2 separate regions of the Homo sapiens genome follow, and region 2 is linked to region 1. The links are contacts of gene promoters, found by promoter capture Hi-C in blood cells and fetal thymus (Javierre and others, 2016). All regions are on one chromosome and are shown on one strand. The core of a region is centred on a gene start or on the middle of the fragment in contact, and the rest is flanking DNA. Distances in the headings are between cores, read along the strand shown.

Region 1 (6,553 bases), core at 1,567-4,066:
CATCACAAGAGAAAAACTGTGATGTGGTTTAATCTTACAGGTTGTCAGGGATCATCTCAATCTTGGGTGCAGGAAAAGTAGAGCATTTCTCAGTGTTGGTTGCACCTTCTATATCAGAATTCCCCGGGGTACGTGTTACAAACTCCAAGCCAGAGGTGGGTGCAGTGGCTCACACCTGTAATCCCAGCACTTTGGGAGGCTGAGCATCCCTTGAGCCCAGGAGTCTGAGGCTGCCGTAAGCCATGATTGCGCCACTGCACTCCAGCTGGGTTGACAGAGCAAGATCCTGTCTCTAAAAAATAAAAATAAATAATAATAATAACAATAAACTCCAGGCCTGCCCCAGAATTATTGGATCTGAATCTCAGGGAGTGTCGGGCCTGAGCATTGCACTTTTTGTATGTGGTGCCTGGTGATGCTACACGCCTGTTGGTATAGAAGAACCTCTATCCTGGAAATTAAATAAAGCTAATCCGAGCCCATGCAGTAGCAGAAACCATGGAAGTCAGGGAGGGAGCTGGGGCCGAGGGATGAGAAAGAGAAAGAGGTCAGTGTCTTTGCAGAGAACAAGAGATTGATACCATATGTTTGTGAAGCACTTTGAATTTCACTTTAAAAATAAAATTAAAATCACAGCAGCTGTTTGTCTATGATTTATGCAACTTTTCTAGGATGCTATTCTTCAGTTAAAAGTTTCATTAAAAAATAAAACAAATTAGGAGTTAAATCAAGGTCACAAGGCCCCTCGCTGGAGCCTTGTGTTTCTTGTACTTGCAGCTTCTTAAAGAACTCCCACCCCCCGCCCCATGCCCTCCTTCCTGCCTGCAGTGCCTCCCTCCTTTCTAAAACATGAAGTCCTTTACACCCAATCCAACAAAAACAAAAGGATCATTCTCATCTGTTGCAACACAGGATCTCAGAGAGGATCGTTTTAAACACACTGTGAATGAACGTAGTATACAGATTCCAAGATTTCTTAGGATGTTCTAACTCCTTCTCCAAGCCCTCTCACCCGTAAGACAGGCATTCTTTCCTAGGAGAATTACATTTTCTGGTGGGTTTCTATGGTCACCACATATGCCTAGCCTTGTATGACCAAGACCAGGAGGTCACCTGGCCATTTGGAAGCCAAAGACACAGCTCTGCTTATAGTTTTACTCATCTCTGCACACGTTCTTCAACGAATTCTTCTTCCTCTGGAACATACCCCTGAGTGAGCTATGTGCAGACCCCTTGGTTTTCACGAACCCCAAGACCCCGGCTGGGGCTTGTGTTCATTGCCAGGTTGTGCTCTACCTGATCTTACTGAAGATACATGGATTTGGGGTAACTTAGAAGACTGTTTTATGCTTTACACTGACTCCCATCTGCTTTTGCAAACTTGAATGATTCTGACTCAAAATATTAGATTTTTGGTCAATAATCCTTTTATTTATTGAAGCCAAAAGGTATATTATGAAGGCCAAAATTATAAAACACTTTGATTTTATCTCATCTGTAAAATGAGCAGAAGAAACTGTTAGATTGCTTAAAAATCCTTCCAACACTGAACTTATAAATGACAATAGTAGGCTGCGTGTGGTGGCTCATGCCTATAAATCCCAGCATTTTGGGAGGCTGAGGCAGGCAGATTGCTTGAGGTCAGGAGATCAAGACCAGCCTGAGCAACATGGTGAAACCCCGCCTCTACTAAAAATACAAAAATTAGCCAGACATGGTGGTGCACACCTGTAGTCCCAGCTACTCAGGAGGCTGAGGCAGAAGAATCACTTGAACCCAGGAGACAGAGGTTGCAGTGAGCCGAGATCGGGCCACCGCACCCCAGCTTGGGCAACACAACAAGACCCTGTCTCAAAAAAATGAAAAAAAAAATTAATATTAAAAAAATCGTCTTCATTTTAGAAAAGAAGAAACTGGGCTTAAAGTAATGTTGAACAATTAACTCAAAGTCAAATACTGGCAGAGCAGATTTTAGGACTCTGAAAGATATCCTTTCAGTCACTGTGCTATAAGCCTAGGTTCAGCTCCCAGGCAATGTCCTGTGAGCTGAACGAGGGAAGACAGACCGCATAGACATTTCAGTTTAAAGTGTCAATATCTTCCCTGAGTCCCTGCCATTCTATTATATTGCTGACAATAGAATGATCTATAACCCAACTATTGATCGATTAACATAGTTTGTGAAAAGCAAACAAAATCAGCTTCCTGGTCAACATTGCCCACTTCAGTTTTACAAAGAGAACATTACCAAATCCTACCCCCTAGAGGTCGAGCTCCCATACTGGTGACCAGAGTGACATTCCAGAAAGGTTTTGGGAACCCAAGTGCAGCCAGGACGCCTCCCGCTGCATCTGGCTGCCCCGGCCAACAGTGTCCCTTACCTGCGGCTCCTGCAGGCGGCTGCCACGTGATGAACCGGAGCCCGTTCCTGACTCGGGAGGGCTGCTTTCCCGGGTAGTAGCCAAATGTGATGACTCGGCTAAATTTTCCCAGCCCTGAATTCCTAACATACAAGAAGGGAAATTAGGAGGTGACGCAGGGTCTGTCCAGGATAACGGGTCGGCACAGAGTGTTGGAAAGTGAGAATCAAATAAGAGGGGAAAGTCAAAGTTTATAGAGTATTTGGGCAGGGGAGGGAATTGTTCTGGAATGAAACCGACAAGAATATTGTAGGGTGGCACAAGCATGACTTGCTACCTTTGCTTCCCCACGCCATGCTGAGGTGTTTTTCCTTCTCCTTGCTGTGATTTCCCCTCCTTCTTCCCTCATGCCAGCCTGGTCGACACTTTCTGCAGAAATTCTGCAGATGGCAATTCTGGGGACCTTTCCTCTGCACCAAACAAAACCTCCCTGCCAAGGCCCGTTCCCCATGCGGCCGCGAGATGGCGGCATGACTCAATGGACGGGTTCCAGGCGACCCCTGCACAAAGCCGCCGCCGTGGCTGCCTCCTTCCTTACATAATCCTGTTAGAGCGCATTTAATCTAAGGATGGGACACTGTGTTCCATGCCAAGCAGCCTCATCGTGGCTGATTGTTGCACCAACAACAAGAGCTTTAACCGTTGACGTCCCTTCCTGCTCAAGAAACACCGTATGTCCCGAAAGGAGCGATTTAAGCTCTCAAAATGATTTATTGGTAAAAAGCAAAGCAAAATTAAAACCGGGGAATTACAGCACCTGCAGAATTTAGGAGCCTCTCTCTCTCATCAGCCCTCCTTCCCTGACTCTCCAAACACGTGCATAAATCTATTTAACAATAATTAGTTATCGTCTCGCTCTGCATTGGGTCATAAAGGGAGAAAATATGTCCTGAAAGGAAAAAAGAACAGTTATATTTTCAAAGACAGAGGCACTTATTGTTATGCTAATAGATAACATTCAATTAAAACTTCTGTGTGCCAAATGTTGTGATAAATATTACATAGACTATCTCATTCAATTGTTACATCAAACCAAAGGTTAATACTCCTACTATAGTCTCCATTTTAAGGCTGGAGAAACTGAGGCACAGGGAGATTACCTTGACAAAGGTCATGCAGTTAATTTGTGGCAGTTAAAATTCAGCTACAGGCAGGCTAATGTAAGAGCTTGGACTCAGCCATGATGCTATGCACTGGACTGGTCTAGAAAACCCAGGAGATAAACAGAAAAATATAAACCAGAGAACTATGTCAGAGTGGAAGATGAAAGAAAAAGGCAGAAAGAAAATCGATGCTGCTGAGAAAATAAGAAGAATGAGGCTAAAACACCACCCTCTTCAGATTAAGTTACAAGGGAACCACTGTGACATTTGAGGACACAATTTCAATAGAGTGACAGAGAAAGGAAGCTAGACTGCAAAACTAAGGGGCTATGAGGAAAGAGGAAATTGAGATGTCTTGCTGCAAAAGGAAAGCAATAAATAGACTAGAAGAGACAGCAAGGTCAGGCAAAAGCATTTTGGTTTTCTTGTGTGCTTTTTGAAATGGAATAAAGCCTGGCCTTGTTTGAAAGTGGTTGCAAGGGAGCCCTAATATGTGGCTGGTGCCAAGTAGTGGTAATAGGAAGAGGTGGAGGGGGCATCAAGGGCACGAGGGAAAGGGTTAGCTCTGGAGGAGGAAGAAAGATGGCTGCCTCTGCCTGCAACTGGGAGGCAGCCACAGAGATGAAGATACATCAACACAAAACTGAGAGGAATGGGCGAGTTCAATTCTTCCAAATTAGCTTTAATCTTTTCAGTAAAACCAGAGTTAGGTTATCTGCCAAGAGCGAGAATGAGGTTTATACGGCCATAATCTATATACTGAACTAATCCATGTAGTGCTTAGAATGACCAAAAAGGTAATAAGATTATCCGAAGAACAGAGGAGACTGGAGAAAGGAAGCCCAAAGTATGATTGTAAAGATTCTCTGCAAAATCTCCTTTGTGAATCAGAACTGAAATTTACATCCCCTCCTCCCCATGAACAGAAACACAACAAACTATTAATAACCCCTTGTGTCTAAAGTTTCTTTGTATTCATGTTTTAAGATATTTGACAGAGAAATAGTATCTTCTCTACTGTTAAATAGGAGAACTAATATGCAGATAAATTTTCCTGTTTGACTTAAAACTACAAAGAACATCAGGGCCAGAACTGGAATTGATATCCAGGAGCCTTTCTGATACTTGCACTGTGCTGACCTCAGCTCTACTAAACACTTCTCATAAACGGCCTGGATGCAGCTAACTGCCCCTAGAGAATCCCAGACACAGCACAAACTTGGGAAGCATCAAAATCAACGCATGATGCCCACAAGAGTCTAAGATTCTCCTTATGTGGCCCTGGGTCACAGTACAGTTCTTTGGAAATTAGAGGGCAAGTTTGATAATTTGATTGCAACATATTTGCATATCTATAACATGATGTCCTTAAAAGAACACACCATAATTATTTAATGTAAGGATTTAATGACTCTATTTTCATTCTCAATTAACATTTCCTTATTGCCAGAAGTACACTGGGGCTGGCACAACTGGAAAAAGCAAAGAGGGTAATTATTTAGCCTGCATTACTGATGAAAAGGGCAACAGGCAAAGCTAAAGCAATCCACAATTCACCTTGTATGTGAATTACATGTGTATTACAATGTGTAATCAGGAAATTTATCTTTTTTAGTTTATTTTATTTTATTTTTGAGACAGGGTCTCACTCTGTCAGCCAGGCTGGAGTGCAGTGGGGGGAACTTGGCTCACTGCAACCTCCGCCTCCCAGGTTCAAGCGAATCTTACGCCTCAGCCTACCGAGTAGCGGGACTACAGGCGCCTGCCACCACACCCGGCTAATTTTTGTATTTTTGATAAAGACGGGGTTTCACCATGTTGGCCAGGCTGGTCTCCAACTCCTGACCTCAGGTGATCTGCCTGCCTCTGGGATTACAGGCATGAGCCACTGGGCCCTGCCAGGAAATTTATCTTAAAGAGAGAGATTTAAGTTTCCTCCCTCTCATCTTCTTTCAGGAAATACATCCCCCGCCCCCCGCCCCCCGCCCCCCAGCTAAGCTAAACTCTGTCTTGATTTTCACTTCTAAAAAGAAGTAAAATCAGCCACCTCCTTAGCCACAGGTTGGGTTTAGCAGCTTCTCATTCTTTCCTTCTTTCTTCCAGTGTTTACTGAGATCCTGCTTCCATGGAGGCAGAGTGCTCGGCAGGTGGGACCAACACTCGGACTGCGCTCTCAAGGAGAATCAACCAGTAGAGGACTTGGGACTGGGGCTTACGTGCCCACAGCGCAAGGCAGGAATTGATAAGAGCCAAGGAGAGGAGGTGATAATGAGTCAAAGGGCAGTCACTCGGGAAAACCCTTTGTAGAGGATGGAGCATCTACTCCTGCGCTTAGTGAAACCTGTTAGACAGAGAGGCATATGAGAAATGCCTCCCAGGAGGCAGGCCCAGCGAGAACACGAGGCCATGAAAGCCCGCCAGCTAGCCACCCCATGAGCCACCTAACCTGACTCCTCCACAGTCCACTCGCCTCCAAGGCAGACAGCCTTGGGAGGCTCTTCCCAAACTTCATGCCACATTTGCTTCCTCCCACTTCTCTACCTATGTGTTTTAATCTAAAAACAAAGGTCTTTTGGCTGCTAATCTTTGAATGCAATAGATGCTGCAGGAAGAAGCACTGGGGTTTATCCCTCCAGCACATGGAGGCAGGAGCGCCCCGTGGCCTAGGTCTCCTCACGCCCAGATGCAGTTCTCCAAACTCTATAAACAGTAAGCTGTCTCATCCAACCCTCCATCTGGCTGTTATGCCTTCCATTTTCTCTATTTTGTTACTTGATAGTTATTGTTGGTACCAGAATGCAAGAAAAAATTCAAGCTCTTTCTGTAGCCTCTTGGCCAGGGGTAATCTCTGAAAATGGTTTGCCTATCCCTTGACCCAGAAAACTCCACAAAATCATGCAAACCAAGGGACTCAAATCTTTATGTTCGCTTTAAGAACACCCATGTAACTGTGCAGGCCATCAAGGTATGCATACCCAAAAAACCACCAAGTACCTGAAAGATGTCACTTTTCAGAGGCACTGTGTGCCT
Region 2 (5,900 bases), core at 997-3,496, 79 kb after region 1:
AGCTAATCAGTTAGGCCCTTGGAAAGTAGGGTCAAAATTGTGAAATGAACCTTTATGTAAAGTCCACATCACCCCACCTCCACTTATCTTTTTGGACACAAACCATTGCACACAAAAAATTGTGCCCATTAATTAGAATGATTAGATGACTGCTTCAAAATAGAGAGACTCCTGGCTCTTTATTGTACTCTTGTGACAAAAGTGACGTGCAATATTGAGATCCAGTCATTACTTCATCCTTCATCTATGTTTGGTTCGGTGGACAAGTGCCTGCCTGTTTTTTAGTGGCAATATTAAATAGTAAGTAAAAGTTCTGGGAAGAGATTTTTTTTACAAGAAGATTGCAAGAGGATACATTGAGTTTATTGCAATATATGAAATTTACCTTTTGGGGAAAGGTAAATTCAAATGAAAAGTGTGACTTATTTTAAAAGAACAGTCATAAAAAACTTGCCAGTCCCGTTTGTTTCCCACTATCAGGGAAAATAGTTAATTGTTAATTGTTATCCTATGATAAGTTTTGAGGGGTTTCAGGCCTACAAAGGGGAATTTGACCATGGGTCACACAGAGCACCTCACCTTTGTATTCTTGGTACATGACACAGAATGAGTTCAGCAAGCAGTTAGTGTGTTAAATGAAGCTTAATGAAGGATATTCTGATCTTCTCTTGTTTGTGCCTGACCTCTCCAAATCTCATTTGCTCTTTAAGATGCACCTCATTTCAAATCCAGTTCTCCTGTAGAACCTTTTTACACCACCATGGACTGGAGTAATTACTCCCTTCTCTGAAACCCCATAGCAGTTTCTTCCTGTTCCTGTGGCAAGTAATCAATAGGTGTTGCTTTGTGCTTCTTTTCATGGTTTAAGCTGTTATTGAAGTCATTGATGGTAGTTACATTTTCCTGAGTTTATATCTTCTTGACTATATTTCGGGTTCCTTTTGGGCAGGGACCATTCAAATACTTCTGTGTATCTTTTACAGTGCTATGGGCGCATTTGATAAATATATTGGTTTTATATTTTATACTTATGGAAATAATTTATTTAAAACCTACTCTGGGGACTTAGAGATTATAAGAAATTTATAAAGTACATTGAGTGTCAAACAAGTTTGCAGATGGAGCATAGTCTAAGTGCATTACCATACTTCCCTAAAGAAAATAATGTCGGCCAGGCACAGTGGCTCACTCCTGTAATCCCAGCACCTTGGGAGGCTGAGGCAGGCGGATCACCTGAGGTCAGGAGTTCAAGACCAGCCTGACCAACATGGAGAAACTTCGTCTCTACTAAAAATACAAAATTAGGCCGGACATGGTGGCTTATGCCTGTAATCCCAGCACTTTGGGAGGCTGAGGTGGGCGGATCACCTGAGGTTGGGAGTTCGAGACCAGCCTGACCAACACGGAGAAACCCCATCTCTACTAAAAATACATAATTAGCTGAGTGTGGTGGAGCATGCCTATAAACCCAGCTACTTGGGAGGCTGAGGCAGGAGAATCGTTTGAACCCGGAAGTGGAGAGTGCGGTGAGCCGAGATCGTGCCATTGCATGCCATCCTGGGCAAGAAGAGCGAAACTCCATCTCAAAAAAAAAAAGAAAAAGAAAAAGAAAAAAAAGAATGTCTAACATTCTGGCCTTCTGAAATCCCTAAGATTGAATAGCATCTATATGGTCACATCATTGAAGGACCACTTCTGGAAACCCCTTAAACATCAGGAAGAGTTTATTTTTGTTTAAAGAACATAGACCAGTGATTCCCAATTCATGGGTTATAGACTCCTCAGGAACTTACCATGTAAAGAAATCTCATTTGTGCTTCAAATATTGTATACTTAATAACTTTTCACATTTTTGTAAATATTATCTTTAAGGATATGTTGCTGCTGTAATTAATAAAATAGTAATTAAAGGCAGTATTGAATTCTGAATCTTCTTAAATGTATGTCTGTAATCACTGTATACTCAAGGTATACCTGCTCTTTGTTTATAAAACTTTTTTATTGTGGTAAAGGAAGCATAATATAAAATTGACAATTTTAACTATTTAAAAGTATACAATTCAGTGACATTAAATTTATTTAGTGTTGTGCAACCATCACCACTATCTAGTTCCAGAACTTTTTTATTATCCCAAGTAGAAACCTAGTATTATTTCATTTTATTTTATTTTTTTGAGACAGGTTCTCACTCTGTTGCCCAGGCTGGAGTGCAATGACACTATCATGGCTTACTGCAGCCTTGACCTCCCCGGGCTCAGGTGATTTTCCCATCTCACCTTCCCGAGTAGCTGAGACTACAGGCACGTGCCACTACACCTGGCTACTTTTTGTATTTTTTTGTAGAGATGAGGTCTTGCCATGTTGTCTATGCTGGTTTTGAACTCCTGGGCTCAGGTGATCCGCCTGCCTTGGCCTCCTAAACTGTTGGGATTACAGGCATGAGCCACCACACCTGGCCAAAATTTCTTACACTTTAAAAGGTGGGACACCATTATGCTAGGTTATAAGCAGGAGTTTAGGTGCTAATTTGGGCTTTACCATTTACTAGCCATGAAACTTTGGCAAACCCTTCAACTTCTCTAGGCCTTAGTTTTCTTCATGTAAATAATATAGGTAATAGCATTTGGAAACATTTAAAGGGCTATACAAGTATAAAATTGGATTTCTCCTTTTCTCCCCATGCTCATTTGGCTAACTTTTCTCATAATTTTCTGAAATTCAGCTCTGCATCCTTTCCCACACAGCAGAAGGTGAGCAGTGGTTGAGCAAGTGAATCTTCATCTGTATTTACAGCCACTCCTCATGGCTTGCATTACCGCCTGTGCTCTGCCTCCTGTCAGAGGAGTGCAAACCCTATTGTGAACTGCGCATGCAAGGGATCTAGGTTGCACACTAATTATGAGAATCTAATGCCTGATGATCTGAGGTGGCACAGTTTCATCCTGAAACCATTCCCTACCCCCTGAAATAGAGTCAACAAGATAAAAACTCATGAAAATGTAACTATCATCAATGACTTCAATAACAACTAAGACATGAAAAGAAAAATTGTCTTCAGCTGGCTGTGGTGGCTCACACCTGTAGTCCCAGCACTTTGGGAGGCTGAGGTGGATTGCTTGGGGTCAAGAGTTTGAGACCAGCCTGGCCTGGTCTCTACCAGCCTGAACTCGTCTCTACCAAAAATATAAAAAAATTAGCCAAGCACTGTGGTGCATGCCTATAGTTTCAGCTACTCAGGAGGCTGAGGTGGGAGGATCACTTGAGCCCAGGAGGTGGAGGTTGCAGTGAGATCGTGCCACTGCACTGCAGCTTGGGTGGCAGAGTGAGCCCCTGTCTCAAAAAAAATTGTCTTCCATGAAACTGGTCACTGGTGCCAAAGAGGATGGGGACCACTGCTCTAGGAAGTTTTCAGTGACCCTTTTTCCTAATTCCTCACCACACTGGGTGAGTTACTCCCCTGTCCTTTGAGCATTCTTGTGCTCACTTCTGTCAATACCATGTATCATACTCAGTTGGAATTATCTCATTCCTCCATTGAGGACAATGACCATATCTTAGTCTGTATCCTCATTATCTTACCCCACAGTACTTAGCACACACAGAGCCTCAGTACATGCTGGGTAGATGGATGAATGCATAAACAGATGAGCAAATAGGAAAACAAAATCTGACATGATTGGTGCTCGGAGTTTCACAGATAATTAAACATAGGTTTTGTTTCCAGAAAATAAGTTTGGATTAGATAGGAGTTTTGTTACCTACTCTTGTAAAACAAGTTAGGAAATACCCCTATTCACACCTCTTTTCCCCATGTACTGATTTATGTGTTTTCTTATCATTTTTTGAGCAAGTGAAGCTTCATCTGTATTTACAGCCACTCCTCATGGCTTGCATTACAAAGCCCATTTCATCTTACAAAGTCTTAAAAATTGAGTGATGCAGTTTTTTTTTTTAAATAAGAATAGGGGGAGGAAGAAGGAAAAAAGTAAGAATAATTTTATTTATTTATTTATTTATTTATTTATTTATTTATTTATTGAGATGGAGTCTCGCTCTGTTGCCCAGGCTGGAGTGCAGTGGCGTGATCTCGGCTCACTGCAAGCTCTGCCTTCTGGGTTCATGCCATGCTCCTGCCTCAGCCTCCCTAGTAGCTGGGAGTACAGGCGCCTGCCACCATGCTCAGCTAATTTTTTGTATTTTTAGTAGAGATGGTGTTTCACTGTGGTCGCGATCTGCTGACCTCGTGATCTGCCCACCTCAGCCTCCCAAAGTGCTGGGATTACAGGCGTGAGCCACTACGCCCAGCCAAGAACAATTTTAAATTACATTAAAAAGTTTTCAGTTGAGTGATATGATTTGGCTCTGCATCACCACCCAAATCTCATCTTGAATTTTAATAATTACCACGTGTCAAAGGTAGGACCAGGTGGAGGTAACTGAATCGTGGGGGTGGTTTCCCCCATGCTGTTCTTGTGATAGTGAGTGAGTTCTCACAAGATCTGGTGGCTTTATAAGGGACTTCCCCCTTCGCTCAGCACTCATTCTCTCTCCTGCCACCCTGGGTAGAGGGGCCTTCTACCATAATTGTAAGTTTCCTGAGGTCTCCCCAGCCATGTGGAACTGTGAGTCAGTTAAACCTCTTTTCTTATAAATTACTCAGTCTTGGTATTTCGTCATAGCAGCATGAGAATGGGCTAATACAATGAGTATATTTTATTTCAAATTTATGTATTAACACCTAATTTCTGTACCAAAACAACATAAGCCATAGAACATGTGATGTGAATAATTGTGGATTTGTGATGAACAGAGCTTGCCACTTAGTTATAATTTGCCCTTTTAGTGCAATTTCATCTCAATTAACACATTTTCAGAAGTCTAAACAAGCATTTGAGTGCTAGTGAGGCACTGGCTACATAGCGCCTATCCGTATTGAGGTTAAGGGAATGCATTTTATCTCCTGCTTATAAATGTGTGTAAATGGATTCTATCTCCTGAATCGTTTGCCTTCTATCTTACATTTCTCATTACAAACGTAAATCAGTATTAAAGAGTCTGATTTGTATTAAAGAGTTGTTTTAGTCTTAGATTATTTCTGTTACTCTCAGGATATGTCTTATATTAGATTGTACAAGGCTTAAAGATACAGATAAAATGTGCTTTAAAGTATGAAATGAGTACCAGAAAATAAATATTTGGTTGAATCAGAGAGATGAGAAAATATATAACAAATGAATTGGCTATTCATTTTTAGTGTGGATTTAAAGCTTTTAGAGGTAGATATAAGTGATACTTTCTTTTACACTGTAATAATGCTTCCATAGGGTAGAGTGCTCAAACAAGAAATTTGGGAAGGATTCAGGCTGAGGTCTATTATGATTACAACAGTAAAAGTGTACAATTGTTTGATTACAAGGTGAGCCAACTCTAAACTATGTACATAGCCTCCGACCCTCAATTTTGTTTTTCACTTTTGTTCTTCCTGCCTCTGTGTTGGCTGCCTTAGCAAGAGAGATGCCAACATTTTTATTGATGACCCAGTGGGCTAAAGGTATAGGAGTCCTTCTGAAATTTTTTTAAAAAAACACCTGAACACTATTGATATAACCTAGTAATTCTCAAGTAACTCCTGCTATCTACGTTTTTTTCTTTTTCTAGTTCCTCCCGTAATACTACTAAACATCTCTTTTAAACCAAGTATTCTTTTCAAGATGTAAGATTGTGAAGAGATTTTACTACAGATTCTTAATTTATTTCAGCCAAATTCAAATATCCTAATGGACTCTATTTAGAATAATGAACCATAGATTGCCAGAACTAAAAGAGCTAAGTACATAGTAAATACCTATGCAAACCATTAACTTAATTCGAGAAGGAGTGTTAAAGAAGAGAATCAATAA

Evidence for each region. Contacts are between HindIII fragments. The CHiCAGO score rates a contact against its expected background, and 5 or more counts as called.
Region 2: a contact is called between a fragment that was not itself captured here and the fragment with the promoter of MRO in region 1, in 2 of 17 cell types (neutrophils and monocytes). The highest score is 6.7, in neutrophils.

The regions. Positions count from the first base shown.
Region 1 is chr18:50,817,200-50,823,752 of GRCh38, forward strand. It overlaps MRO (maestro), which reads right to left and starts at 2,817. Exons shown (of 8, transcript NM_031939.6): 1 at 2,698-2,817; 2 at 2,382-2,503. It also overlaps the pseudogene RPL17P46. RefSeq lists enhancers at 2,502-3,135, 2,972-3,021. The HindIII fragment of the contact is 17,012 bases long and covers 1-6,553 here.
Region 2 is chr18:50,896,275-50,902,174 of GRCh38, forward strand. All of the region lies in intron 2 of ME2 (malic enzyme 2), which reads left to right. Among named protein-coding and RNA genes, the nearest start is that of ME2, 20 kb to the left of the region's middle. RefSeq lists silencers at 3,472-3,672, 4,515-4,564. The HindIII fragment of the contact is 3,215 bases long and covers 640-3,854 here.